5 separate regions of the Homo sapiens genome follow, and regions 1, 2, 4 and 5 are each linked to region 3. The links are contacts of gene promoters, found by promoter capture Hi-C in blood cells and fetal thymus (Javierre and others, 2016). All regions are on one chromosome and are shown on one strand. The core of a region is centred on a gene start or on the middle of the fragment in contact, and the rest is flanking DNA. Distances in the headings are between cores, read along the strand shown.

Region 1 (5,279 bases), core at 2,153-4,652, 830 kb before region 3:
GGCCCTCTGAGAGAACCTTCTACAAGGATCTACACGGATCGCTCCACGTTCTTCACGGGTAGTTGTGTGTTGAGGTGTGGGCTCCACCTCCCTGGCCGCCTGTGTTCCTGGAACCCGCCCAAACCTTTCAGCCTCTCAGGGCCTTTGTGACGCTGCTCCCTCTTCCTAGGGTGTCTTTCCCCGTCCCTCTCACCCTTCAGGTCTTCCCTCCACTGGCAACTCCTGACCACCCTCTCCAGTCGCTGTCTCCTTGTTCCTTCCCGGCACCCATCGCCATCTTTCATCCTCTCACTGATTTACTTGTTGATGGTGTGTCCCTCCCTCCCGCTCCCCTACAGGGCATGTCAGCTATACGGAGCAGCGCTCTCTGCTGTCTCATTCCCTGCAGAGCCCCAGCACCTAGCACATAGTAGGTTTCCAAGAAATATTTATTGAACGAATGAACAACTGAATAGATGGGGTAGGCAAGTGCAGATGAAAGCTTAAAGTCACCTCTCTGGACCTCTGTTTCCTGGTTTGTCTGATTTGTCAAAGAGATAAGAGCTCCGGTCCTCCCCTTTGAACCAGGCATGGTTAGACCCAGACCGTGAGCAAATCCTACGTGGGTGCAACACTGAGAATGGCCAGTAGGTGGCAGTAAGTCACTGTGGTCGAACTGGGACAAAGCCTGGCCCAACCAGGGCGCAAAATACCTAAAGTTTAATCCACCAAAGTTTATTTCCACCACGAGGCATGCAAGTCTCTCTTAAACACAGCACGCGTGCCCCTGCTACCCTGAATGGAGAACAATGAACCTCCATTTGGATTCAAATCCCAACTCTGCCACCAACTACTAGGTGGCCAGAGTAAATGGCCTCTGTAAAGTGGGAGCATTATGAGCGCGCAGTGGGTAACGGATGTGGAAAGACAGCATGCCGGAGCAGGGCGAGGACAGCAGGCAGCTGGCCGTAAATGGAGCCTGGGCCTGCAGGGAGCCCACGGCCACCTCATACTCCAAGCCACGCCCCCCGCCCACGTTGGCTCTTCCCCAAAGCCCTCCACCCATTCTGCTGCTGCACCCACGCAGCTGCATGTGGCTGAGGACAAGGTACATCAGATGACTGGCCTCACTCCAAGGTGACCCCACAAACCTGGAATGGGCCCCTGTGCTTCCGGCAACCCAACCAGGCTTCACCGGCCCATTAACTCTCCCACCCCCATCCCTCTTCTCCTCGAGTCCTCACCAAGACCCCCTCCTGCCCCCTGGCTATTGGCTGTGACCTTGGTTCTTATCTCACTGAGAAAAGAGAATCAGACGAAAATGCCGCATTCTCAGGATGCCAAATCTTCCACCAACCAGCACCACCCAGGTACCACAGAGGTACACACTGAGGGCACATCCTCCCTCATGCACAGGGTGCCAAGCCCTTTCACCACCCTGGGTTTTGCCCTGGCAAGTCTCACCTTTCTCTTCTGCATTTTTTTTTTTTTGAGATGGAGTCTCAATTTGTTGCCCAGGCTAGAGTGCAGTGGCACAATCTCAGCTCACTGCAACCCCTGCCTCCAGGGTTCAAGCGATTCTGTTACCTCAGCCTCCCAAGTAGCTGGTACTACAGGTGCCCTCCACCACACCCAGCTAATTTTTTTTTATTTTTATTTTTAGTAGAGGCGAGTTTTCACCATGCTGGCCAGGATGGTCTCGAACTCCTGTCCTCAAATGATCCACCCACCTCAGCCTCCCAAAGTGCTGAGATTACAGGCGTGAGCCACCACCCCCGGCCTCTCTTCTGCATCTTAATTACTTTCCCCTCTATGGATCATGCCCGTCAGCCTAAAAACAAGCTGTGATCTCTCTCATTCAGAATAAACTCTCCCTTGACCCTACGTTCCCTCCCTCTAGCTGCACTCCCATATGTCTGCCCTCGTTTACAGTGCAACTCTCCGGGAGAGGGGCCCATGCTCCACCCATCCCCACCGGGCCCCACTGCAGTCCACCTGCCCTTGCCACTGAAACCCTCAGGATCACCAGTGACCTCGGTTCTTCCCAATTCCATTCTCAGCCCTCAGCCCACGTCTCAGCAGCATTTGAGAGTTGAGTGTTCCGTCCTTGCAACATTACCTCTCTTGGTTTCTGTGACTTTGTCTCTTCTCTATCCGTGGTCACTTCCCAGCTGTCTCACTGACCCAGAGAATATAAAGTCCACCCAATGCCAATCATTCCCACGTGTGTATCTCTCATCCTGACCTCTCCCTGGAAACCAGATTCTTCTATCTGGCCCTCGCTGGAGGTCTAACAGGCTGCTCAAACTTAACTTGAACTCTTGATTTTAATCCCACCTAACCTGCTTCTCCCTCAGTGTCCCTGTCTGTCTAATGGCAGTTCCGGCCCCAAATCCTGAAGTTGCCCTTGACTCCTCTCTGCCTTACACCCCACATCTGATTCTGCAGCAAATTCTCTGGGTCCAACCTTTAAAATCTGTGCTGGACCTGACTGCTCTCACCATCTGCACCACAAACAGCCTACTCCATGCCCCCTTATTTTTGCCAGGAGTGACATAAGTGGCATAGCCTCCTCCTTGGTCCTGCCACATTCTCTCTGTCTCTCTTGCATGCACCGCATTCACCTGCTTAGAATAAAGTTCAAGTCCCGACACAACAAGGCTTGACAGGAGCAGTGGGGACCCTTCTCCTGCCTCATCTCCTTACACTTCCCTCTGACTCACTCTGCTCACCCACTCAGGACTCCTTGACGCCCCCCCTTTTTTTGGTACAGTCTCCATTCCAGCCTTGGAACTTGCTGTTTCAATGCCTGTAGCTGCGACCCAGCCAACCGCACAGCCCCTCCCTCTTCCCTTCAAGTCTCTTCTCCTCAGAGAAGCCTCCCTGACCCCTCTACCTAAAGTAGCCCCGCCCTCTACCATTCACTATCCCTTCATCCTGTTTAATTTCTCTTCACAGCACCAATGCTTCCACTTCATCGTTTCTTTATATGTTTTTTTATGCCGTCTTCTCCCAACTGGAAGGTAAATTGCACACGTGTGGGTTCTCACCCATCTTGTTCACCATGTGTTACCTGTGTCTGGAGCAGTGCCAGGAAGACTAGGACCTCACACTTTTATTGAGTAGATGGATGGATGGATGAATAGATGCATGCATGGATGGACGGATGGATGGATGGATGGATGGATGATGGATGGATTCATGGATGGATGGGTGGATGCATGGAGGGATGGATGGATGAATGCATGGATGGATGGATAGATGCATGGTTGGATAAATGGATACATGGATGGATGGATGGATGGATGGATGGATGCATGGATGGATGAACAAATGGATGGATGGATGGTTGCACAGATGGATAAATGGATACATGGATGGATGGATGGTTGCACAGATGGATAAATGGATACATGGATGGATGGATGCATTCACGGATGGATGGATGAATGCATGCATGTATGGATGGATGGATGGATGCATGCATGCATGCATAGATGGATGGATGGATGGATGCATGCATGCATAGATGAATGGATGGATGCATGGATACGTGGATGGATGGAAGGATGAATGGATGGATGGATGCATGCGTGCATAGATGGATGGATGGATGGATGGATGGATGCATGGATACATGGATGAATGAATGGATGCATGGATGGACGGATAGATGGATGGATGGATGCATGCATGGATGGATTGATGGATGCATGGATGTATGTATGCATGGATGGATGCATGGATGAATGGATGGATGGAGGGATGCATGGATGGATAAATGGAAGCATGGATGCATGGATGAATAAGTGGATGCATGGATGGATAAATGAATGGATAGATGGGTGGATGCATGGATGGATGGATGGATGAACAGATGAATGGATGGATGGATGGATGCATGCATGCATTCATGCAAAGACGAATGGATGATGCATGGATCCACGGATGGATGAATGGATGTATGTATGAATGGATAAATGGATACATGGATGGATGGACGGATGGATGGATGGATGGATGGATGGATGCATGGATGCATGGATGCATGGATGGATGGATGGGTGGATGGATGCATGGGTGGATGGATGGATGCATGGATGGATAAATGGATGTGTGCATGGATGGGTGGATGGATGCATGGGTGGATGGATGGATGCATGGATGGATAAATGGATGCATGCGTGGATGGATGGATGGGTGGATGGATGCATGGGTGGATGGATGGATGCATGAATGGATAAATGGATGCATGGATTGATGTATGGATCAATGGATGGATGGATGCATGGATGGATGGATGGATGGATGCATGCATGCATGCATAGATGAATGGATGGATGGATAAATGGATGCATAGATGGATGGATTAATGGATGCATGGATGGATGGGTGGATGCATGCATGGATGGATGGATGGATGGATGGATATCCACAATCTCATAAGACAGTACCCATAGGGCAAACAAAACACACCAGAATCTCTTGCATCTGAATAAAATGTTATGTTTTCCCTAAAGTTCACTCATATCTGTACTTCCAAACACTTCTGAGGGGTAAGGGTGGATGTTTTTACTTCTAATTTGCAGGCTTTGGGAGGGTACCAGATGAGTAACACATTGAAGCCTGAAGGCCCCTCTGGCTTCTATGGGTAGCATCTGCAGTTCACCCCTGCTCCTAAGATGTCTGAGGGAGAATTCTCTTCAGCCCAAGGGTGCTGAATGATTCCTTCTGGCCTTGGCTGAGCTGAGGAGGTAGCAGCAAAATTGGTGGGGCTGACTCTGGCAGATGGGGAGGATTGTTTGCAGAGGCTGTCATTCAGATAACTCCCTCAGCAGGTGAAGTTTATAAAGGGGACAGGATGGAGGTGGTCTTAGCCTCTAGGGCCCACTGCCCTCCCTGCACTGCAGGGATGTGGCTGGTCATCCTAATGTGCACCTACCCCCATCTCTGACAATGTCCATCCTTGTAGGGCACATTCTCTTTCTGAGCTCAGAACTCCCCAAATAGTAGTTTTGAAGTTTTAAAGTGCCTGGGAGACATGCTGTAGCATCTGCTCTATTTTAGAATTGGCTGGATCCACACCTCATTCATCACACCTTCCAACCTGGGGGCTTCTCAAGGCCAAGGTGAGTTCTGAGGCACACCCTGCACCTGGCCCATTGGCTATGGTCAGATGCTGTGTGTGCTCTCTGAGGACAGCCAGACCATGAGGCAGGGGCGGCCTCTGAGGGTCAGGCCAGGATCAGGGCCTGCCAGAGGCAGGGCCCTGGACACGGACTGATGTTCAGCAAGGATTT
Region 2 (5,328 bases), core at 74-2,573, 700 kb before region 3:
ATAAGAAAAGCCTGAAAAATGTTTTAGAGGCCATAAAGCAGTGGTCCCAAACCTTTCTGGTACCAGGAGCCAATTTCAGGGAAGACACTTTTTCCACAGATGGCAGCAGGGGTGCTGGCAGGGGGCAGATATGGTTTTGGGATGAAACTGTTCCACCTCTGATCATCAGGAATTAGATTCTCATAAGAAGCACGCAACTTGGATCCCTCGCATGCACAGTTCACAATAGGGTTCGCACTCCTATGAGAATCTAATGCTGCCACTGATCTGACAGGAGGCGGAGCTCAGGCGGTAATGCTTGTTCACCTGCTGTTCACGTCCTGCTGTGTGGCCCAGTTCTTAACAGGCCATGGATAGATACTAGTCCATGGCCCAGGGGTTGGGGACCCCTGCTATAAAGAACATTCTGGGTATCAGTTAGAGCAGCTTATTAGTCCCATTTTACAGACGTGGAAATTGAGACCAGAGGGACTAAGAGACTTACCAGAGGTCACACAGCAAGTTGATAACAGCACTGAGATTCAAGTAGTATTAGTGGCAGCTACCATTTACGAAGGGTTACTCAGTCCCAGGCACTGTGATAAGCACTTTATCTACATTAAGCTTCACTGATGCTATGAATTGTGTGGTAACTTTCCATTTTCAAATGGGAAAACTGAGACAGAGAAGTGGCATGACCAAGGTCACACAGCAAGTAAGCTGAGGAGCTGGGATGCAAATTCAGATCTGTGTGCACCAAGGGCCAGGCTCTGCCTACAGGACTACACTAGTTCCAGCTCGCTAATTCACTGATGGTCATCTTATTTAATTTAAATACATCCCAGTGATGAAAAAACAAACAAACAAACAACAAAAAACCCAATACCAGAAAACCAAGGGAGGCCAGTGGGTACTGATCTCAGGAGCCAGGTGCCCAGGTGCCCTGTCAGGTCCTGATGCTGGCTTGTTACCATTTAATTTCAATTTGAGACATCTGAGACACAAGAAAGCTGTTCCGCTTTCAGAGAGCTTGGCCTTTCAGTTCGCTCTGGTTCTTAAACATCAAAATCCAGGTGTTCCTAATGCCTGAAATCTCAGGATTTCCAAGGGCCTGATCAGCAGCCAGAGAGACCAGGTCAAAGAGAAAAACACACACTGCTTCCAGAGCATCCTTGGAAATGTTTGTCCACCTTGCTCCATTCACCCCACCCCAGAATGGCTCCTACAAGAACCTCTTCCATTTGACCAAAATGTCATTTTATATATATTTAAATCTCTTCCTACAGAAATGCCAGACCATTGGAGTAAGGGCAGATGTGTGCACATATATACAAACACATGGAAATTCATTGTGGCACTGATCATAATAGGAAAATAATAGGGGGAAAAATTTTTGAGACAGGATCTCGTTCTGTCACCCAAGCTAGAGTGCAGTGGTACCATCTCGGCTCACTGCAACCTCCACCTCCGGGGCTCAAGCAATCCTCCTACCTCAGCCTCCGGAGTAGCTGGGACCACAGGCACCAGCCACAATGCCCAGCTAATTTTTCTTTTTGGTTTCTTGGTTTTTGTTTCAAGAAAGGATTTGGCTCTGTCACCCAGGCTGGAGTGCAGTGGTGTGATCTCAGCTCACTGAAGCCTCAACCTCCTGGGCTCAAGCGATCCTCCTACCTCAGCCTCCCAAGTAGCTGGGACCACAGGCATGCACCACCACACCCAGCTAATTTTTGTATTTTTTGGTAGATACAGGGTTTTCTCATGTTGGCCAGGCTGGTCTTGAACTCCTGGGCTCAAGGGATCCTCCCACCTTGGCCTCCCAAAGTGCTGGGATTATAGGCATGAGCCACCATGCCTGGCCATTAGGGGAAAATTGAAAATAACAAAACGCCCATCAATACATCATGGTATTCCATAAAACGGATTTCTCTGCTGAATGGGGCAAATATGTAGGTAACACTTAACTTGGGTACATTTCATTGTATACAAATAATACTTCAATTAAGTTAAATTTACAAATATAAAAATAAAGATTTTTATATAAAGAAAAAACTTAAATAAGCTTTAGGTTTTGTGAGCCTATTGGAGTCTCAAGAAACTACAAAAAACCTAAATGTCTAACACCTGGGGACAGCCGTGGCCCTTTCACTCCATGGAATGCTACAGAGCCAGAAAGATGAATTCCCTGGCTACAGAGCCACATGGAATAATGCTCATGATGCAGTGTGAAAGGAAGGCAGACTGGAAAGCTGTTCCCACACTACGATTACAACCACTCCCCTCTTCCTGCAGATGCACTCAAGGGCAGCAACAGAAAAGCCCCAGAACACTTACAGTGGCTGAATCTTAGTACCAGCCCAGGTTCTCAGAATGGAGAACTCAGAATTTAAGAAGCCCCAGGCCTCAGAGCCTTACAGCTGCAAGGTTCCTTGGCATTCAACCAATCCATTCTCTTTCCAATGAAGAACCACCCAGAAAGCATCTGGCCATCCTCTGCTGCTTGCACACTGCCAATGACAAGGAGCTCACTACCTCCCAAGGCAAGGCAGACAGCTCTGGAGCCATGAGTCGTTTGGCATTATGTGAACAGGCTGTCACTGAGTCATTCACATTGTCTCCTGGTTGTCCTCAGAGCCAGGGACAGAAGTTCTTAGAACCACTCATAGGGTGTTGGGTGGGTAAGGGAGGCAGCTGAGGGCTGGATGAATTTTTCTATTTAAAACAAACTGGCTGTCTGGGCGTGGTGGTTCATGCCTGTAATCCCAGCACTTTGAGAAGCCAACACAGGCAGATTACCTGAGATCAGGAGTTTGAGACCATCCTGCCAACATGGTGAAACCCCGTCTCTACAAAAAATACAAAAATTAGCCAGGCATGGTGGCAGGCATTTGTAATTCCAGCTACTCAGGAGGTTGAGGCAGCAGACTCGCTTGAACCCGGGAGGCAGAAGTTGCAGTGAGCTGAATCGCGCCAATACACTCCAGCCTGGGTGACAGAGCATGAGTTCGTCTCAAAATTTAATAAAATAAAATAAAATAAAGTGGCCCTCCACTTCTGGATATATATCCAAAAGAAATGAAGCAGGGACTCACATATTTACACACCCATGTTCATAGCAGAATTATTCACAGTAGTCATAAGGTGAAAACAAGCTAAATGTCCATTGGTGGACGAGATGAATGGATAAACAAAATGTGGTATATCCATATCCATACAATAGAATATTATTTGTTCTTAAAAAGGAATGAGGCCAGGTGCGGAGGCTCATGCCTGTAACCCCTGCACTTTGGGAGGCCAAGGCGGGCGGATCACCTGAGGTCAGGGGTTCGAGACCAGCCTGGCCAACATGGTGAAACCCTATCTCTACTAAAAATACAAAAAAATTAGCTGGGCATGGTGGTGTGTGCCTATAGTCCCAGCTACGCGGGAGGCTGAGGCAAGAGAATTGCTTGAACCCGGGAGGTGGAAGTTGCAATGAGCCGAGATTGTGCCATTGCACTCCAGCCTGGGCAACAGAGCAGGACTCTGTCTCAAAAAAAAAAAAAAAAAAAAAAGAATGAAATTTTGACACATGCTATAACATGGATGAACCCTCAGGGCATTATGCTAAGTGAAATAAGCCAGACACCAAAGAACAAATATTGTATGACTCCACTTAGATGGAGAGAGTAGCCAAACTCATAGAGAAAAGCAGTGAATTGGTGGTTACGAGGGGCTGGGGAGTTACTGTTTAGTGGGAGTTTCAGTCTGGGAAGATGAAAAAGTTCTGGAGAAGGATGGTGGTGATGGTTGCATAACAGTGTCAATGTACTTAATGCTACACTTAAAAATTGTTAAAATGGTACATTTTATGTTATGCATCTTTTACCTCAATTTTTTTAAAAGGGAGGGGGCAGGGAGTTTTCAAAGAAGAGCAGGAAGAGGCGAGAAGGGTATTCCCAGCAAAGAGAATGACACATGCAGAGCTACAGGGACACTGTATTTTCAGGGCAGCTGAAAGGGTGAGAAAAGCTACAGAGGTCACGGAAGTGGTGGTCAATGTCCCTGTATGCCATGCCAGGGAGTCTGGACTTCACCCTGAAAGCAATGGGGAATGATTGCGAAAGAAGAGGAATGACAGCAGATTTGCATTTTAGAAATATCACTTTGATCACAAAAAGACAGGTCATGGGGTAGTGTGTGGTATCTTTGGGGGAAGGGAGGAGAGTCAGGGGCTGTTGTCAGTAATCCAGATGAGGGCTGACAGTAAGAAGATGTTCTGGAGTTACCGTGTGCCTTAGTTGGCACTACTCCTTCTGACAATGCCATTCGTTTGGGATTAATTTTTATTAGGGTTGTATTTATTAGATCTCCATTTTAATATACATGTCTTCTAAAATAAATTACAGGCTGGGTGTGGTGGCTCATGCCTGTAATCCCAGCACTTTGGGAGGCCGAGGCCAGTGGATAACTTGAGATCAGGAGTTCGAGACCAGCCTGGCCAACATGGTGAAACCCCGTCTCTATTAAAAACACAAAAATTAGCCAGGCATGGTGGCGCACGCCTGTAATCCCAGCTACTCGGGAGGCTGAGGCAGGAGAATCACTTGAACCTGGAGGCAGAGGTTGCAGTGAGCCAGAATGGTGCCACTGCACTCCAGTCTGGACAACAGAGCAAGACTTCATCTCAAAAAAATAAAGTAAAATAAAATAAAATGAAATAACATACAAACTCCTTGAAGACTAAAATAAAAGGTTAAAAGAGTAAATTTTTTAACATGTATTTCGTCACAGTTTAAAAAATGCAAAACTGGCCCAGGCAAGCATGCACCTTGCCGCCTTCATGAACAACTCCGTAACTGGCTGAGCCGCCCCAGGGCTAGTCAAAACACAGCAGAGAAGAGGTCAGCCGGAAATGTCCCAAGGTGCACTTACTTCCCCCATGCAGTGCCAAGAATGCAGGTCCTAATGCTGGCTCTGCCACAGCTTGTAATCTGACCTCAGGCAAGTCTCTCCTCCCCTCCATGGGACTCAGTTTCCTCATCTGTAAAATGATCTCCTGGGGTAGGAGAGTACAGGGGCTCCGAGCCCAGGCTCTATAGTTAGGCAGCCCTGGGTCTCACTGGCTTCAGCACTTCCTTGCATGTAGTCTTGAGTCATGTACTACTGTGGGGTGTTTATGGACCGGCCACTGCACACCAGCTTGGTGCTAAATATGCAGCTGTGCTAACCTCAGTCCCATTTAATCCTCACAACAGGCTAAGGGGCAGACACCATTGTTTTCTCCACTTTACAGACAAGGGGATGGGCAAAGTGACTGCCCACAGTCACAGAGATGCGAAGAGGCAAAGCTAGGATCCGAGTCCAGTGGTC
Region 3 (5,270 bases), core at 956-3,455:
CTGTAAAATGGGAGTAATGATAACACCTTCTCCAAGTGCTGCTGAGGACTGAGTTCAAAAGCATAAGGCTTCCCATCATGGCATTTGATAATTTTTAATTTCATAATTCTCCGAGGGCAGGGGCTCAGAAATGGAAGGGCTGTGCTGCCACCTGTGCTGTCAGTGAGGGCTCCAGGCAGAGGGCTGAGCGTTTCCCAGGACTTGTATCCTCACTGTCATGTTCAGGGCTCAGCACAGAACCTGAGGCTAAGCCAGGTGTCCTCTGTTCCTGTGGCACCCCCACAGGCTCCAGCACTTCCCCACTGCAGCCTTCGTTAGCCCGAGTCGCCACTTCCCTGCTCAGGGCCCCAGCTCAGGGGAGGTTCTTTCTTATCCCTCCTCCATACCCCACTCTCTAGCACACAGTGGATAAATGAACATGATTCTGCTCGGAGGTGGTATCCCCATTTTACAGATGGTGAAACTGAGGCATAAGAAGCTTAAGCAACTTGCTCAGCCAATAAGTGGGAAAAGCATTCACAGAGACAACAGCATATAATCCCAGCCATTACCACCCCTTAGAGAAATGACGTATCAGGCAGCCTGTCGGTCTTGGGGCCAACTACAAGTTTCAGCACGGGGTGCTGTAGATGAAGCTGATGGTTGAGGTGGTGGAGAGGGTGAAGGAGATGGGGGTGGTGGCGTGGGGTGGGCAAGTGAGGAGAGAGCTCCTCCAGCAGGTGACACAGCGGCGCTGGGGGAGCTGGCACCAGACTCCAGGTGTTCAGCCTGGAGTTCACCTGTGGGAGGACCCAGCAAGGTGGACAATCTGAAAGCTGGGTTGCAGGGAGGGGAGTAGGGACTCGAGGAGGCAGTGGGCCTCGGGATGGCAGCGAATAGTCACAGCTAGATTTTCAGAGCCAGGAGCCCAGGCCCCTGGAGAGGAAGAGATTGTACAAAGTCACTCCCCAGGTAGCCCAGGGTAATGATGGTAAAAATAATAGTTGCCCCTTCTGGCTTCTAACCAGGAGTCATCTCACTCAACCTCACCACAACCCTTTTTACAGTTGAAGACACTGAGGCTCAGGAAGGTGACCTGTAGCTTGTGGAGCTGCATTTCTAAACACGGCCTGTCTCAACTGCCTGTCATCAGGACAGGGTGTCAGGACCTGGGGCTAAGGATGGGACCCAGGAATCAGAAACAGACCCAAGTCAGAAGCAGAGAAGCAGCAAAGCGGGACTGGATGCCTAACCCAGACTGGGCAGAGCTGGGAGCGCCCTAGCCTCAGGGCGGGTGCAGACAGGGGGTCACGAAGCCGGATCTCAGTGACAGAGTCCGCCACCTCTTTCTTTCCAGGGTACAGACCAGAGGAGCCTAGTGGGAGGGGAGCAGGCAGATTCTTTCCCTCTCTGGCAGGGGCATGTATCATACCGGGGAGTGGAGGAGGATAAGGGCGGCATCTTTCTTGGGTTGGTCCCTTGGGCATCCACATGGGAGTGGCCCTCCGTCGGTTCCCTGGTCCAGGGTCCCCGGTCTTACCGGGACAAGGACAGCAAGACGGGAGACGGCAGCCCCATCCCTTAGCTTCGGCTGCCATCTGGTGGCCAAAGCGCAGAACTGCACCATGTGGAACCACCGGATCCCCCCACCCAGCCCCGGCCGGGCCTCCCGGGGGCACGAGGGGCGTGGCACGACTCCCACAGCCATCAGCCTGAGGACCCTGCCCTCAGCCGCCTCAGTCTGAGGGGAAGGCATGGCCCTGACCTTAGAGACCCCAATTTGGCGATGGGGCATCACATCCCTCCGGGCATCTCAGAGCTGCCTGCCCGAGGGAGGCGAAGCAGATGGAAAGCCCCCCAGCCACGTCTCTCAGTCAGAGGAAACGGGTCTCCTCTTCGGCCAGCCGGGTCCTCTTCCCCCGGGTGCCGCCTGGCTGTGCGACCCGGCAGTCCTCCCGCCTCTCCGGGCCTCAGCCTCCTCTCCTGGACAGTCCCGTGGGCTTCCGGGAGCCCGGTGTCACACCGCCCCGCGTGTCGCAGGTGGTCATCGTGGTGACAGACGGGAGGCCCCAGGACAGCGTGCAGGACGTGTCTGCGCGGGCCCGGGCCAGCGGCGTCGAGCTGTTCGCCATCGGAGTGGGCAGCGTGGACAAGGCCACGCTGCGGCAGATCGCCAGCGAGCCGCAGGACGAACACGTCGATTACGTGGAGAGCTACAGCGTCATCGAGAAGCTGTCCAGGAAGTTCCAGGAGGCCTTCTGCGGTGCGCGGGCAGGCGGGGGCGGAGCCAGGGCAGGGGCGGAGAAGGGGAGAGCGGCGGGGCGGGGCCAGGGCTGGAGGCGGGACCGAGGCTGAGGCGCAGACGGAGCCAGCGCCGGCGCAGGGCAGGGGCGGGGCCGGGGGGGGGGCAGAGGCGGAGACGGGAGAGAGATAGAATGTCAGTGCCGGGGCGGGGCCGGGGAGGAGCCGGGGGCGGAGGCGGAGACGGAGAGAGTCAGCGCCGGGGCGGGGCAAGGGTGGGGCCAGGGCAGGGGCGGAGACGGAGAGAGCGGCGGGGCGGGGCCAGAGCAGGCAGGGGGCGGGGCCAGGGCAGGGGCGAAGACGGAGACAGTCAGTGCCAGGGCGGGACCGGGGCGGAGGCGGAGAGAGTCGGCTCCAGGGGCAGGGCCAGGGCTGAGCGGGACGAGGCCGTGGCAGGCGCAGAGACTGAGAGTCCGCGCTGAGGCGGGCCAAGGCTAGGGGCGGAGCCAGCGCTAAAGTGAAGACAGAAAAAGTCAGCGTCGGGGGGCGGGGCCACATCAGAGGGCGGGGCCTGGCTGGGGCGGTAGCCTATAAAACGGCGGGAACTGAGTTACACGGCAACATCAGGGCGGGGCCAGGGCTAGGGACACGGCTTAGGTGGATTGGGGGTGGAACCTGGATTAGACTGAGGTGGTGCCAGCACCAGGGGTGGGGCCGTAGCTGGGGCGGAGCCTGATAACGGAGGAGGGTCTCCAGCCCCAGGTTAAGGGAGTTGGGGAGAGGCGATGTTAAGAGTCCTTTTATGGCCGGGCGCGGTGGCTCACGCCTGTAATCCCAGCACTTTGAGAGGCCGAGGCGGGCGGATCACGAAGTCAGGAGATCGAGACCATCCTGGCCAACATGGTGAAACCGGTCTCTACTAAAAATACAAAAAATTAGCCGGGCGTTGTTGCGGGCGCCTGTAGTCCCAGCTACTCGGGAGGCTGCGCCAGGAAAACGGCGTGAACCCGGGAAGCGGAGCTTGCAGTGAGCCGAGATCGTGCCACTGCACTCCAGCCTGGGCGACAGAGCGAGACGACTCCGTCTCAAAAAAAAAACAAAACAAAAAAAAAAACCGCACACACAAAAAACAACAGAGCCCTTTTATGTGGCAGAATCCTGGCAGGGACCAAGGAGGGCCCAGAGCTCAGGAAGGAGAGCTCCCAGAAAACCTACACATGTTTCTGTGTCGTGAGTTTTGGGTGCCAGAGTTTTCTGTGATGCGGGAGAGTCTGAGAGGCCTGGGCACTGGCAGGAGAAGGTTCAGAGCCCTTCTCGGAGGGGAGGTGTGTGTGTGGGTCTTTGGGATGTGACCCGCAGGGGCAGGGTGTCCAGTAGGACAGGATCAGGGTTAGGGCAGGGACTTTACCCATTTGTAAAATGGGTCTAAGAAGAGCATGCACGTTATTGAGAGGATCCAGTGAGATAATGCAAAATGTAACCCTCATTATATGGTATTTGACAGATAGGTGCTGTGTTCATTGTATGCTGTTCTAGACACTTGGGTGTCTTGATACAGCAGTGAACTAAACAGACTAAAGGCCCTAACCCTTGGCCTTTACCTTTTTAGTGAGACTTTTCATTCTTATCATCAGCATTATAACCTTCTTCAGGGATCTAGGCACTGGTGCAATGATTCCAGACGTGGGCTGAGAGTCGGGGGCCTGGGCCCCAGTATGTTGGAGATCTTAGTTTCCCTGAGTCTGGATGGGGCCTGGTATCCACAGTCAGGGAGGGACAACCTGTCTGTAGTGCCCAAGGCACTATGACTGTGAGATCTGAGCTACTTATTGTCCCCGCAGTGGTGTCAGACCTGTGCGCCACAGGGGACCATGACTGTGAGCAGGTGTGCATCAGCTCCCCCGGTTCCTACACCTGCGCCTGCCACGAGGGCTTCACTCTGAACAGCGACGGCAAGACCTGCAATGGTCAGTGGGGTGGACACAGGCTCGCCCTGGAGAGGGTGTGGAGGGGAGGTGATGGGGCCTCCCCAGGAAACCCATTCAAGCCTCCCTGCACCATACCTCTGAACCAATCTTCAAAGCAGACAGATGCCTTTTAGAGTTTGGTATCTGCAGAAGTTCTCACCTGACTTCTGTCCCTGTTTTCAACACAATGGGCGGTGGGTTTAGTGTGGTAGAAGGACTCACATAGTCTCAAAATCAAATCCTGGTGCTACCACTTCTGAGCTGTGTGATCTCACAGCTATTGGAGTTTCAGTTTCCAATACTGTACAGTGGGACCAGTCACCTTGGCTTTATAGAGGCAGTTCTGAGGGCACAATGTAATGATCCTCAGCACAGAGCTTGGTGTGTGGTGGGTGTCCAGCCGGGGAGCAGGATGGTTGACTATGTCCTTCAGCTTCAGCCCGTTGCCTTCCTGTCCTCCACAGTCTGCAGTGGTGGTGGTGGCAGCTCGGCCACTGACCTGGTCTTCCTCATTGACGGATCCAAGAGTGTGAGGCCAGAGAACTTTGAGCTGGTGAAGAAGTTCATCAGTCAGATCGTGGATACGCTGGACGTGTCAGACAAGCTGGCCCAGGTGGGGCTGGTGCAGTACTCAAGCTCTGTGCGCCAGGAGTTCCCCCTGGGTCGCTTCCACACCAAGAAGGACATCAAGGCGGCTGTGCGGAATATGTCCTACATGGAGAAGGGCACAATGACTGGGGCTGCTCTCAAGTACCTCATTGACAATTCCTTCACTGTGTCCAGTGGGGCTAGGCCCGGGGCCCAGAAGGTGGGCATTGTCTTCACTGATGGCCGGAGCCAGGACTACATTAATGATGCTGCCAAGAAGGCCAAAGACCTCGGTAGGTGTTGCCTGCCTGGACCCTGGACACCACTGATGGCCAGGGGTACACACGGGTATAGCCCAACTGTAGTTTATCTTGGTGTCGTCTGATTAGTGCCCTAAACCCAGGTGAGTTTGAATGAGGAGGATTGGTTAGTCCAATTCTCTCTTATACCAATGACAAAATTGAGGCCCCAGAAAAGTAAGTGGCTTGTTTTGAT
Region 4 (4,856 bases), core at 1,920-4,419, 920 kb before region 3:
CCTTGTTTCCCAGTGGCTGGTCTTCTGCCTCAGAATCAGCTGAGAGCTTGTTTAAGAAAGCACACTTTTGGGTCCCACTTCAGACCTGTTCTGTACCCAGGAATCTACATGCTAATAAGCATTAGGGACAATTGGTGTGCATCCTAAAAGCAGTGACAGGTTAGAGAGAACTGTGCTAGAATTCTAGCTGTATTACTTAATAGTTATATACCCCTGGACAAACTAAGGGCTCTGAGCCTCAGCTTCCTCACCTGTATAAAGGGAGAAATAATACCTGTGAAAAGGGCTAAAATGAGGTTAAAATGCAGGGAGCCTGGCGTGTTGCTAGTGCCTAGTACATGCCAGTGTCTGGTGGCAGCTCTTGCTGCCGTGACTGCTCTCATGATGCCATGCTGCCTGGGCTATTCCTGGAGTGAAATACTGAAAAGGAGCACAGAGAGAAGAGTCTGGAATAGAAAAAGAAATGTTGTTTTTTTTTCCTACCATACCCTTGTCCGCCTCCTGGTCTCAGGTGTTCTAAGAAAGGAAACGAGTTGTTTTAAAGCATCTCAGTCAGTGCTGCCTCCCCTCCACCCACTACATAGCTTTGGAGGATTCCAGCCTATTGTTAGGAGTCAGAATTCCTGTAATTTTCCACTGCTTCCAGTCCAGGGTACCCAAGCAGGGACTGGGTATTGGAGTAGTAAAATTCAAGCACCCTTTGGTCCTATGGGGGAACGAGCTTGGTGGATTTCAGTGCTTAAGAGCTTAGTTTTTGAGGCCAGAGAGAGTTGATTTCAAATCCCTGCTTTGTCACTCCCTTGCAGAAGTTTGTTGCAAAAGTCTGAGACTCAGTTTTCCCTTTTTTGAAAAAAATTTTTTATTTATTTGTTTATTTTTAAGACAGAGTCTTGCTCTGTCGCCCAGGCTGGAGTGCAATGGCACAATCTTGGCTCACTGCAACCTCCGTCTCCCGGGTTCAAGCAGTTCTCCTGCCTCAGCCTCCCAAGTAGCTGGAATTACAGGCGCACGCCACCACACCTGGCTAATTTTTTGTATTTTTAGTAGAGACGGGGTTTCGCCATGTTGGCCAGGCTGGTCTCAAACTCCTAACCTCAGGTGATCCACCTGCCTCAGCCTCCCACAGTGTTGGGATTACAGGCGTGAGCCACCACGCCTGGACTAGTTTTCCCTTCTTTAGAATGGGGTCATAATAGTATCTACCTCAGAATTACTCTAAAGATTAAATGAGAAAATCCACGTAAAGTGCTAGGTATGGTGTTGGGCATGTAGAATACTCCAAGTGGAGGAGTAATGCAGTTATGCAGATTGAAGAGGCAATGTGATAAGTATTCAATGGGAGTAAGTGTAAGGTACAGCACGGGAGAGTGAGATACCTAACTCAGTCTAGGGGTGCATTTTTAAAAGAGGTGATATTTAAGCCAACAACTGAATCACTGGTAGAAATTAGCTGAGTGAAGAAAGGAATGCTATTCCAGCAGAGGAAATAGCTGCACAAAGCCCATGAAGCAGGTAAGACAGCCTAGTATTTTGGAGGAACTTTAAGAAGTTCAGTGTAGTTGTAGTGATGTGGGGGAAAGGGGTAGGAAATAAGACTAGAAAGGTAAGCAAGGGCCAGATCCCAAAGGGCCTTGTATGCCTTTTTGGGGAGTGTGACTTCATCCTAAGAGTAGTGAGGGAGCCAGTGAAGTGTTTTGTCCCATTTGTGCTTTGGAGTGCTTACTGTGGGGTGCTGTGAGAATGGATTGAAGCAGGAGAGACAGGAGGCAGGGATACCGGTTTTGACGCTATTGAGGTAATCTAGGCTAAAGAGAACTGTGACCTGGTAGAGGAGATTTGAGAAGCACTTGGGAGGTAGATTTGAGAAAACTTGGCCTTAGGTTTGGATGATTAAGCAGAACGGAGCTCCATTCACTGAGATGAGAACACAGGGAGGCATGGGTTTGGAGGGAAGGTCCAGTAGGCTGCTGGATATGTGGGTCTGTAGCTCAGGAGTGATGAAGCTGGAAAGATTTGAAAGTGTGAGCACAGAGGTAATTGAAGTCTGGGGATGGTTCTTGGCTCATTGTTTATTGGTTGCGTGCTTCTCTCCTATTTCAAGTGGCTCTGCTGGTGAATGCTTGAACTGTTCCTCTTGTCTTCCTGTGATTGTTTAACCCCTTAGTTTGGGCTTCCCACCTCCTCCTGTGCACTTGAAGGGTAGCTCTGGGGTACAAACTTGTCTTTGCAATGCTCCCTCCTCCATTCGTCATCAGGGCTCAGCTTGGAACAGCCGTTGATACCTTTAAGCTTCACAGGGGTCTTGAGGTTAGAAGACTTGAGTCCTCAGAACTGGAAAGAAAAAAAAAATACCGGACTTTCTGAGGTGGTTATTTGGGAGGAGGTAAGCTCCCTACTGCTTGCGCAAGTGCAGGTAGAGATTCCAGGTGGTTCTGCAGAGATTCCATTATTAACTGAGAGGTTGAACTGAAGAGTCTTTGGGGTGTCTTCCAAAATGTGGCTTGGCTCTCAAAGTGACTCTAGGTGCTGGGACGAAAAAGAATGAGATTTTTCTAAGAGTCCCTGATTTCTGGGCTTGAAGGCTCTGAGAGATCACCCAATCCAGCCTTCCCCTCTACCTCTGTCCACAGTAGAAATTCATTATATTTGACAAAGACATTTAGCACAGTCCCTCACACAGACACATGCTAGGCACTCACTCATTTATTGAGTGAACAAACAGAAGGGGGTAGTGTAGAGTCATGCAGACCCTGACTTGAATCCCAACTTGCCCATTCTAGCTGCATGATCTCAGGCATGTTATTAAACTCTCTGCCCCTTAATTTTCTCATCTGCAAAATGGAGATGACACTGTTTACCTCACAGGACTGAGGATTAGTGAGAGCTGGTTGAACTGGAAGCACCTAGCAGAGCCTCAGTAAATGTTTGTTGCCCCCAGTCCCCCCAGGGCATCAGATGTAGCTTATTTGCAATCAGCCAGAGCCCTAGAGATAGTTTTTCTGTGTTGCTTCAGAAGCTGCAGTTACTGAACTCTTCCTGTCCTTCCCCTCCACCTGCCTTCACAATCCTGTTTATCAGTATGAAATAACTCTTGGAAAAACTCTAAAAAGGGCTGGGAGCATGGAGTAGTGTAAAAGAACGTGGAGTCAGGGATGCTGTTTTTCATTTCTGGTTCAGACCTTTGCTAACAACTCAGTGACACTGGGTGACCCTCTGTGAGGTGGGGACCACCTCATCTTCTTCCCCAAACTTCCTGTGCAGCCTGCATTCTGTCTCAGTTGGCTCCACCTCCTTCATCTTGTGCAAAAGCTAGAAACCCGAGTCATTCTGAACACTTTCCTCACTCCTCCTCCATCTCTTTCCTAATCTAATTAGTCACCAAGTCATGTCTGGTCTATCTCTGAAATAGCTTCAGAATCCATTCCGTTCTCTTCATCCCCAAGTGTGCTGTCTGGTTCATGCCCTGCCTGCCCAGCACCTGGGCTACTGCCTCCCTCACTGGCTCATCCTCCACACCGCCGCTGGTTACTTCTCTAAACAAGGTTCTCATCACGTTCCTCTCCTATTGGAAACCCTTCTATAGTGCTCTGTTTTCTCCGGCATAAAGCCCCAACAAAACTCTTTAGAGTGGTGTTCATTTGTCCAAATATTTGTGGAGGCTTGCAGGTGCCAGGCACTGTGCTGGGCCCTGGGGTGCCATGATGAGTGAGGCGCAGTGTCTGCCCCTGGGGAGCTTACTGTTGGGTGGGGGAGATGCTAGACAGAAACTACTCTTAGACACTGATACCTCACGGCTAACTGAAATGCAGGGGGAGAGGTGCTTGGTCAACGAGTGTATAGAGGGCCTGCCTTTCTGGGTTCACACTGCATTCTTGGCTCTGCGGTTTAACTCATTCCCTGAATGCACTATGCTCACTCTTAAGTCTGTGCGTTTGTCTTTCTTCTCTCTTCTGTCTGGAGTGTCCTTCCCTGCCTGCCTTTTGGAAAATGTCTATGCATCCTTCAAGGACCATTTCCAATATCACTGCCACTTCCTCCAGGAAGCTTTCCTTGACCCACTTCATACATTGTTCATTTATTCATTCTGCAAACAGCACAAATTCCTCCATCTAAGCTTCCTTGATAGCACATAAGTAGATTTTTCTGATGGCACTGATCAGATTGTATCACAATTATCTGTGGGCCCCTTAAGGGCAGGACTTCATTTACTTGTGTCCTCAGATCTACTACAGAGCCTAGTACAATATTGTCACTCTGAAAATGCGTGCTGAATGAAGTCCTTTAACAGCTCCGTGGCTTAGTTTCTTCATCTGTAAAAGAGGGCAACTAACATCTTCCTTTTTTCTGTTAGGAGGCCATTGGCAAGATTCTGCCTGTAGTGTTTGTGTTTGTGAAAGTACTTTGTAAACTACAGAGGAGGTCTTCAAATGCAGGACAGAAAGGAAAGGGTTTAATTGCTGCCAGACTACAATAGCCAGAAGGGCAGGAGACCTGCCTGGCAGCACCTGCTTTGTTGGCCTGGGGATGTTTCCTAGGTGGTTTATAGGTGGTTTCCTAGGTGGGTTTTCCTAGGTGCCAGGTGCGGTTTATAGCTTTGCTCACAGGGCTTATAGTGGGGCAGCTACTTCTGGCTTCGTGTCTGGCCTGTTCTTTGGGTGTGCCCAGATTCTGCAGAGTTCCCACTCCCTTTCCATCCTATGCTGGAATCCTGAGCCCTATTGCTTAATGAAGGAGTGTTGTAGCAGGAGGCAGGGGGAGTCATTGGGTGCAAGGGAGTGGTCCAGCCTTGTCTCTTCCTCCAGCTCACAGCATTACTTGGGCAAGTCCCTCCCTCCCTCCCCCATCTGTAAAATGGG
Region 5 (5,138 bases), core at 509-3,008, 580 kb before region 3:
GAGGTGAGCCTCCATACCAAAGGCTGAGGGAGTAGAACCCCCAAAGAAACTAGAGCTGGGAGAAGTCCCACTCAGAGCAGTTGGGTAGAAGCCTCTCCTCAGTAATTAGGCAAAGGTCAATTATTACTGATTCACAGTTAATCTCCCAACCTTATGGTGGGCCACAGTGAAAGGGGGAGTGAGTGAGAATTACTGCAAGGGTGCCTACTGTAACAACGTATTCTGCTTTGATCCAGTTTACATATTAAAATTCTGTGTAAGATTTCACTTGGAAAAAAAAAGAGTTCTGCTACTTTTAAAGAGTATACAGCCGTGCGTGGTGGCTCACGCCTGTAATCCCAGCACTTTGGGAGGCTGAGGCAGGTGGATCACGAGGTCAGGAGATCAAGACCATCCTGGCTAACACAGTGAAACTCCATCTCTACTAAAAATACAAATAATTAGCCAGGCGTGGCAGCGGGCACCTGTAATCCCAGCTACTCGGCAGGCTGAGGCAGGAGAATGGCATGAACCTGGGAGGTGGAGCTTGCAGTGAACCAAGATCGTACCATTGTACTCCAGCCTGGGCGACAGAGCGAGAGTCCGTCTAAAAAAAAAAAATAAGAGTATATAACATTGAGCCAGGCACGGTGGCTCACACCTGTTAATACCAGCACTTTGGGAGGCCATGGCGGGTGGATCACTAGAGCCCAGGAGTTCGAGAATAGCCTGGGCAACACGATGAAACCCCATCTCTACTAAAAATACAAAAATTAGCTGGGCATTGTGGTGGGCACCTGTAATCCCAGCTACTCGGGAGACTGAGACAGGAGAACCACTTGAACATGGGAGGTGGAGGTTGCAGCGAGCCGAGATCATGCCACTGCACTCCACCCTGGGCAACTCCACCCTGGGCAACAGAGACTCTGTCTCAGAAAGAAAAAAAAAAAAGAGTATATAACATTAAGATAGATACAGTCAGTCAGACAGGACCACATTCATACACTTAAAAGAGCCAGTAAGTCGACAAGGATTGAGGTACACCATTTGGAGTTGCCTTGCAATAGCTCTGAATGCAGAACAAAGCATTTTGCTTGCATGTTTTAAACAACTGTGTTACATAGGGAAGCAACAGGGGACCAATTACTAGCCACTCTCTTTCCAAAACAAGGGACAGAGAAAGGAAAGTATGGGATGGAAGTAAAGGATACAGGAGAAGAAATGGTGGCCCAGAGTGAGGTCAGAGTCTAAGCTGGGTGAGGAGGAAATCTACAAAGAGAACTGCAATATAGGGAAGAATAAGGTGATGAAGGCACACACTGGAGCAGCCCAGAATGGGTAGTCAGAGCTCGAGCATCAAGAGGTGGGGCCTGAGGATCAAAGAAGTAATGCAATGTTAATTTCATAATGTTGGTAATTACACTGTGGCTATAGAGGAGAATGTCCTTGTTTGTAGGAAAAAAAGTTTTCAGGGCTGTTGGGGTATTGGGTCAGCAATTTAACTCAAATAATTCAGAAAAATGTTATCTGTACATGCTTCCATAATTATGTGATAGTTTCAAAAAAAAATTTTAAAGTACACATGCAACTGGGAAAAAAACCCTACACATCCTGTCCTCCTATCCCCCAAGCAATGAAAAGTTTAAAGAACAATATTAAATTGGCCAGACATTTTATAGCCTTTTTGGAACTTCATTTAATGTGTCACCTTACTGACCTGGTCAAGATTTTTGTTGTTATCATTTTCCAGCTTGTTTGGATTTAGATTTTTTTGTTACTTGAGTACTAATTGACTAGAACCCTAAGAATTTAAAGGAATTTTAGTTTATCTTTAAGCTGTGCTGGAATTGTGAGCAAAGTAAGCTAACTAAAACTACTAGGATATGAACAGAGACAGAATAATGACTCCAGAGCCTGCACTGTTTGCTTTGTTTTTTGTTTTGAGGCAGGGTCTCACTCTGTTGTCCAGGCCGGAGTGCAATGGTCCAAACATGGCTCCCTGCAGCCTTGACCTCCTGGGCTCAAGCTATCCTCCCGCCTCAGCCTCCCAAGTAGCTGGGACAGAAACACACCAACGAGCTTGGCTAATTTTTTTTTTTTTTGAGGGGGGGTAGAGACTGGATTTCATTATGTTGCCCAGTCTGGTCTTGAACTCCTGGCTCAAGCAATCCTCCTACCTCAGCCTCCCAAAGTGCTGAGATTACAGGCATGAGCCATGGCACCCGGCCAAGAGCCTGCATTCTTAAGCACTATACCTCAAAAAGAATTCACAATCGAATATGGTTTGGCTTTGTGTCCTCACCCAAATTTCATCTTGAACTGTAATCCCCACATGTTGGGGGAGGGACCTAGTGGGAGGTGACTGGATCATGGCAGTTTCCCACAGTCTGTTCTCATGATAGTGACAGAGTTTTCACGAGATCTGATGGTTTAAATGTGGCAGTTTCTCTTGCTCTCTCTCTCTCTCCTCTGACACCACTTAAGACGTGCCTTGCTTCCCCTTCACCTTCTGCCATGAGTTATAAGTTTCCTGAGGACTCCCCAGCAATTCAGAACTGTGAGTCAATTAAACCTTTCTCCTTTATAATTACCCAGTCTCAGGGAGTTCTTTAGAGCAGTGTGAAAATGGGCTAATACACGGTCTAAATCTAAATTTTGTAGAATATAGCTCTAACACTAACTAGGTCCCAACATTAGAGGAATCAATGTGGATATCATTCATGGAAGAGCTAGGATGAGCAACGTCTGGATCCATTCATTCAAACATGAAACCAAGGACCATTTCTCATTTGATTTTGTGTTCCTGGGGTCTGGTATACTACAAGTACTCAGTTTTTTTTAAATGAGTGAACTGAGCCTCACTATATGCCAAGCACAGGTAGAGAAAGAGGGGGGAACACATTCTGGTCTAAAGGATATAGAAGAAGAAGGAGCTAGGTCCCATTTAATATGTTGGACAGATCAACAGATGGAACACTTCTTTTTTCTTTTTTTTTAAGATGGAGTCTCGCTCTGTTGCCCAGGCTGGAGGGCAGTGGTGCGATCTCGACTCACTGCAACCTCCACTTCCCGGGTTCAAGTGATTCTGTCACCTCTGCCTCCCAAGTAGCTGGGACTACAGGCATGCAACACCATGCCCAGCTAATTTGTGTACTTTTAGTAGAGACATGGTTTCACCATGTTGGCCAGGTTGGTCTCAAACTCCTGACCTCAAGTGATCTGCTCGCCTCGGCCTCCCAAAGTGTTAGGATTACAGGTGTGAACCACCGCACCCGGCCGGGACACTTTCAAATGTCAAACTGGTGGTCCAACTTTCCTCCCTCCCACCAAATTCTAGAGTGACCATGTAAGATAGATGCTTCTTGCTTTCAAATTCCAGTCGTGGACCTGTTGAGAAAATAGCCAAAAGCAGGAAAGAGGAATAGTAAAATGCCAGGAAAAACACAAAAGATGAACTCAGAAAATGTAAAAACTTAAAGGAATTATGGAAATAATTAAACCTATTACTCTTAGGCCACTGAAAATGAAGCCAAGTGATTTGACAAAGGCTGCTCACAGTTAGCAACATTGGTATAAGACCCCAGGATCAGCACTTATTCTACCACTCGACACTACACTTTCAGTCAATTATTCCTAAGATCCCTTCAAAGTCTTATAATAGCTAATATTTGAGTGCTTCATATCTGCCATGTATTAATCTAAGAGCTTTACTTCTCTTAACTAATTTTTCTTTTTAAAATTTTATCTTCATGACATTCAATAATTCTCTTCTTGACTATCCCATAAAACAGGCAATTATCATTGCCATTTTAAAAATGAGGACACAAGAGAAGCTAAGTAAACTCGCTCAAGATTGCAAAATATGAATGATGGGGATGGGATTCAAATCATTTTTAGGGACATTTTTTTCCTCCCTTTGTAGAGTGTGGAACTCTTGTAAGCATGCCTTTGTCTTGCACATCATCATATCCTTCCTCCCCAAATCTCCAGTGCCTAGCACAGTGTAACACACATGGAAATTGTCTACTAAAATAGTGAAGTATTTAATTTTACCCCATTTAAATTGTTAATTCATCAATTCAGTATGCTATTGATTGATGTTTATATATAAGGTACTTTATAAACCTGCTTTCAATCCCTAAAACTCCTCTACAAAGCAAGTAATCCTATTTTACAGGAATGAAATAACTTGTCCAAAACAACACAGCAAGAAAGAGACAAATCTTAGGCCATTCCAAGGGCCACACACACTTGCCACTAAACCACCCTTTTTTTTCTTTTTTTTTTTTTGAGACAGAGTTTTGTTCTTGTCACCCAGGCTAGAGTGCAATGGCGCGATCTTAGCTCACTGCAACCTCCTCCCAGGTTCAAGCGATTCTCCTGCCTCAGCCTCCCGAGTAGCTGGGATTACAGGCACACACCACCATGCCCAGCTGATTTTTATATTTTTAGTAGAGACAGGGTTTCACCATATTGGTCAGGATGGTCTCGAACTCCTGACCTCAGGTGATCCACCTGCCTCGGCCTCCCAAAGTGCTGGGATTATAGGAGTGAGCCACAGCACCCGGCCTAAACCACCCTTTTCAACACAGTCCCTGTTCTCAAAGACCTCCTAATCTGATAGGGATATCAGATATCATCATTCCAACAACACTCTAAACTCCCTTTAACTCTGTCTTTATATTTAACTATCTGGCAGTATGTCTAACCTAGCCCGGGACAGTTGCAGACAACAGAACCCACTTAAGCAGAAAGGGATGTATTGCAATAACAGACTTTGGCGGAACTTCCAGGAACAACACCTAACCCACAAAATAACACCAATTACACTGCAATGTGATAAGTGCTAAAGCAGAAGCTTGGGGGCCAGGCATGGTGGCTTATGCCTATAATCGTAGCACTTTGGGAGACCAAGGCAGCAAGATCACTTGAGGCCAGGAGTTTGAGACCAGCCTGGACAACATGGCAAGACCTTATCTCTATAAAAAATACAACAATTAGCCAGGCATGGTGGCACATACCTGTTATCCCACCTACTGGAGAGGCTGAGGTGGGAGGATCACTGGAGCCTGGGAGGTCGAGGCTACAGTGAGCCATAATCATGCCACTGCAATCGGCCTGGGCAACAGAGTAAGACTGTCTCAAAACAAACAAACAAA

The links. Contacts are between HindIII fragments. The CHiCAGO score rates a contact against its expected background, and 5 or more counts as called.
Region 1: a fragment that was not itself captured here is called in contact with the fragment with the promoter of MATN1-AS1 in region 3 in 1 of 17 cell types (total B cells); the score reaches 5.8 in total B cells.
Region 2: a contact is called between a fragment that was not itself captured here and the fragment with the promoter of MATN1-AS1 in region 3, in 5 of 17 cell types (non-activated CD4 T cells, naive CD4 T cells, naive B cells and 2 more). The highest score is 6.3, in non-activated CD4 T cells.
Region 4: a contact is called between a fragment that was not itself captured here and the fragment with the promoter of MATN1-AS1 in region 3, in 2 of 17 cell types (neutrophils and non-activated CD4 T cells). The highest score is 6.9, in neutrophils.
Region 5: a fragment that was not itself captured here is called in contact with the fragment with the promoter of MATN1-AS1 in region 3 in 1 of 17 cell types (total CD8 T cells); the score reaches 5.9 in total CD8 T cells.

Annotation. Positions count from the first base shown.
Region 1 is chr1:31,544,410-31,549,688 of GRCh38, reverse strand. No RefSeq gene overlaps it. Among named protein-coding and RNA genes, the nearest start is that of LINC01226, 29 kb to the right of the region's middle. RefSeq lists an enhancer at 282-521 and a silencer at 592-711. The HindIII fragment of the contact is 5,837 bases long and covers 484-5,279 here.
Region 2 is chr1:31,416,055-31,421,382 of GRCh38, reverse strand. All of the region lies in intron 1 of SERINC2 (serine incorporator 2), which reads right to left. Among named protein-coding and RNA genes, the nearest start is that of SERINC2, 5.5 kb to the right of the region's middle. The HindIII fragment of the contact is 1,435 bases long and covers 606-2,040 here.
Region 3 is chr1:30,715,707-30,720,976 of GRCh38, reverse strand. It overlaps MATN1-AS1 (MATN1 antisense RNA 1), which reads right to left and starts at 2,205. Exons shown (of 4, transcript NR_034182.1): 1 at 1,412-2,205. MATN1 (matrilin 1) reads left to right here. Exons shown (of 8, transcript NM_002379.3): 3 at 2,020-2,242; 4 at 4,062-4,187; 5 at 4,652-5,068. RefSeq lists silencers at 1,593-1,682, 2,243-2,762, 2,803-2,982 and enhancers at 1,340-1,915, 2,013-2,182. The HindIII fragment of the contact is 4,958 bases long and covers 481-5,270 here.
Region 4 is chr1:31,638,256-31,643,111 of GRCh38, reverse strand. All of the region lies in intron 1 of PEF1 (penta-EF-hand domain containing 1), which reads left to right. Among named protein-coding and RNA genes, the nearest start is that of PEF1-AS1, 3.5 kb to the left of the region's middle. The HindIII fragment of the contact is 1,755 bases long and covers 2,292-4,046 here.
Region 5 is chr1:31,300,065-31,305,202 of GRCh38, reverse strand. The region is part of intron 1 of ZCCHC17 (zinc finger CCHC-type containing 17); the gene reads right to left. Among named protein-coding and RNA genes, the nearest start is that of ZCCHC17, 5.6 kb to the right of the region's middle. The HindIII fragment of the contact is 6,162 bases long and covers 1-4,839 here.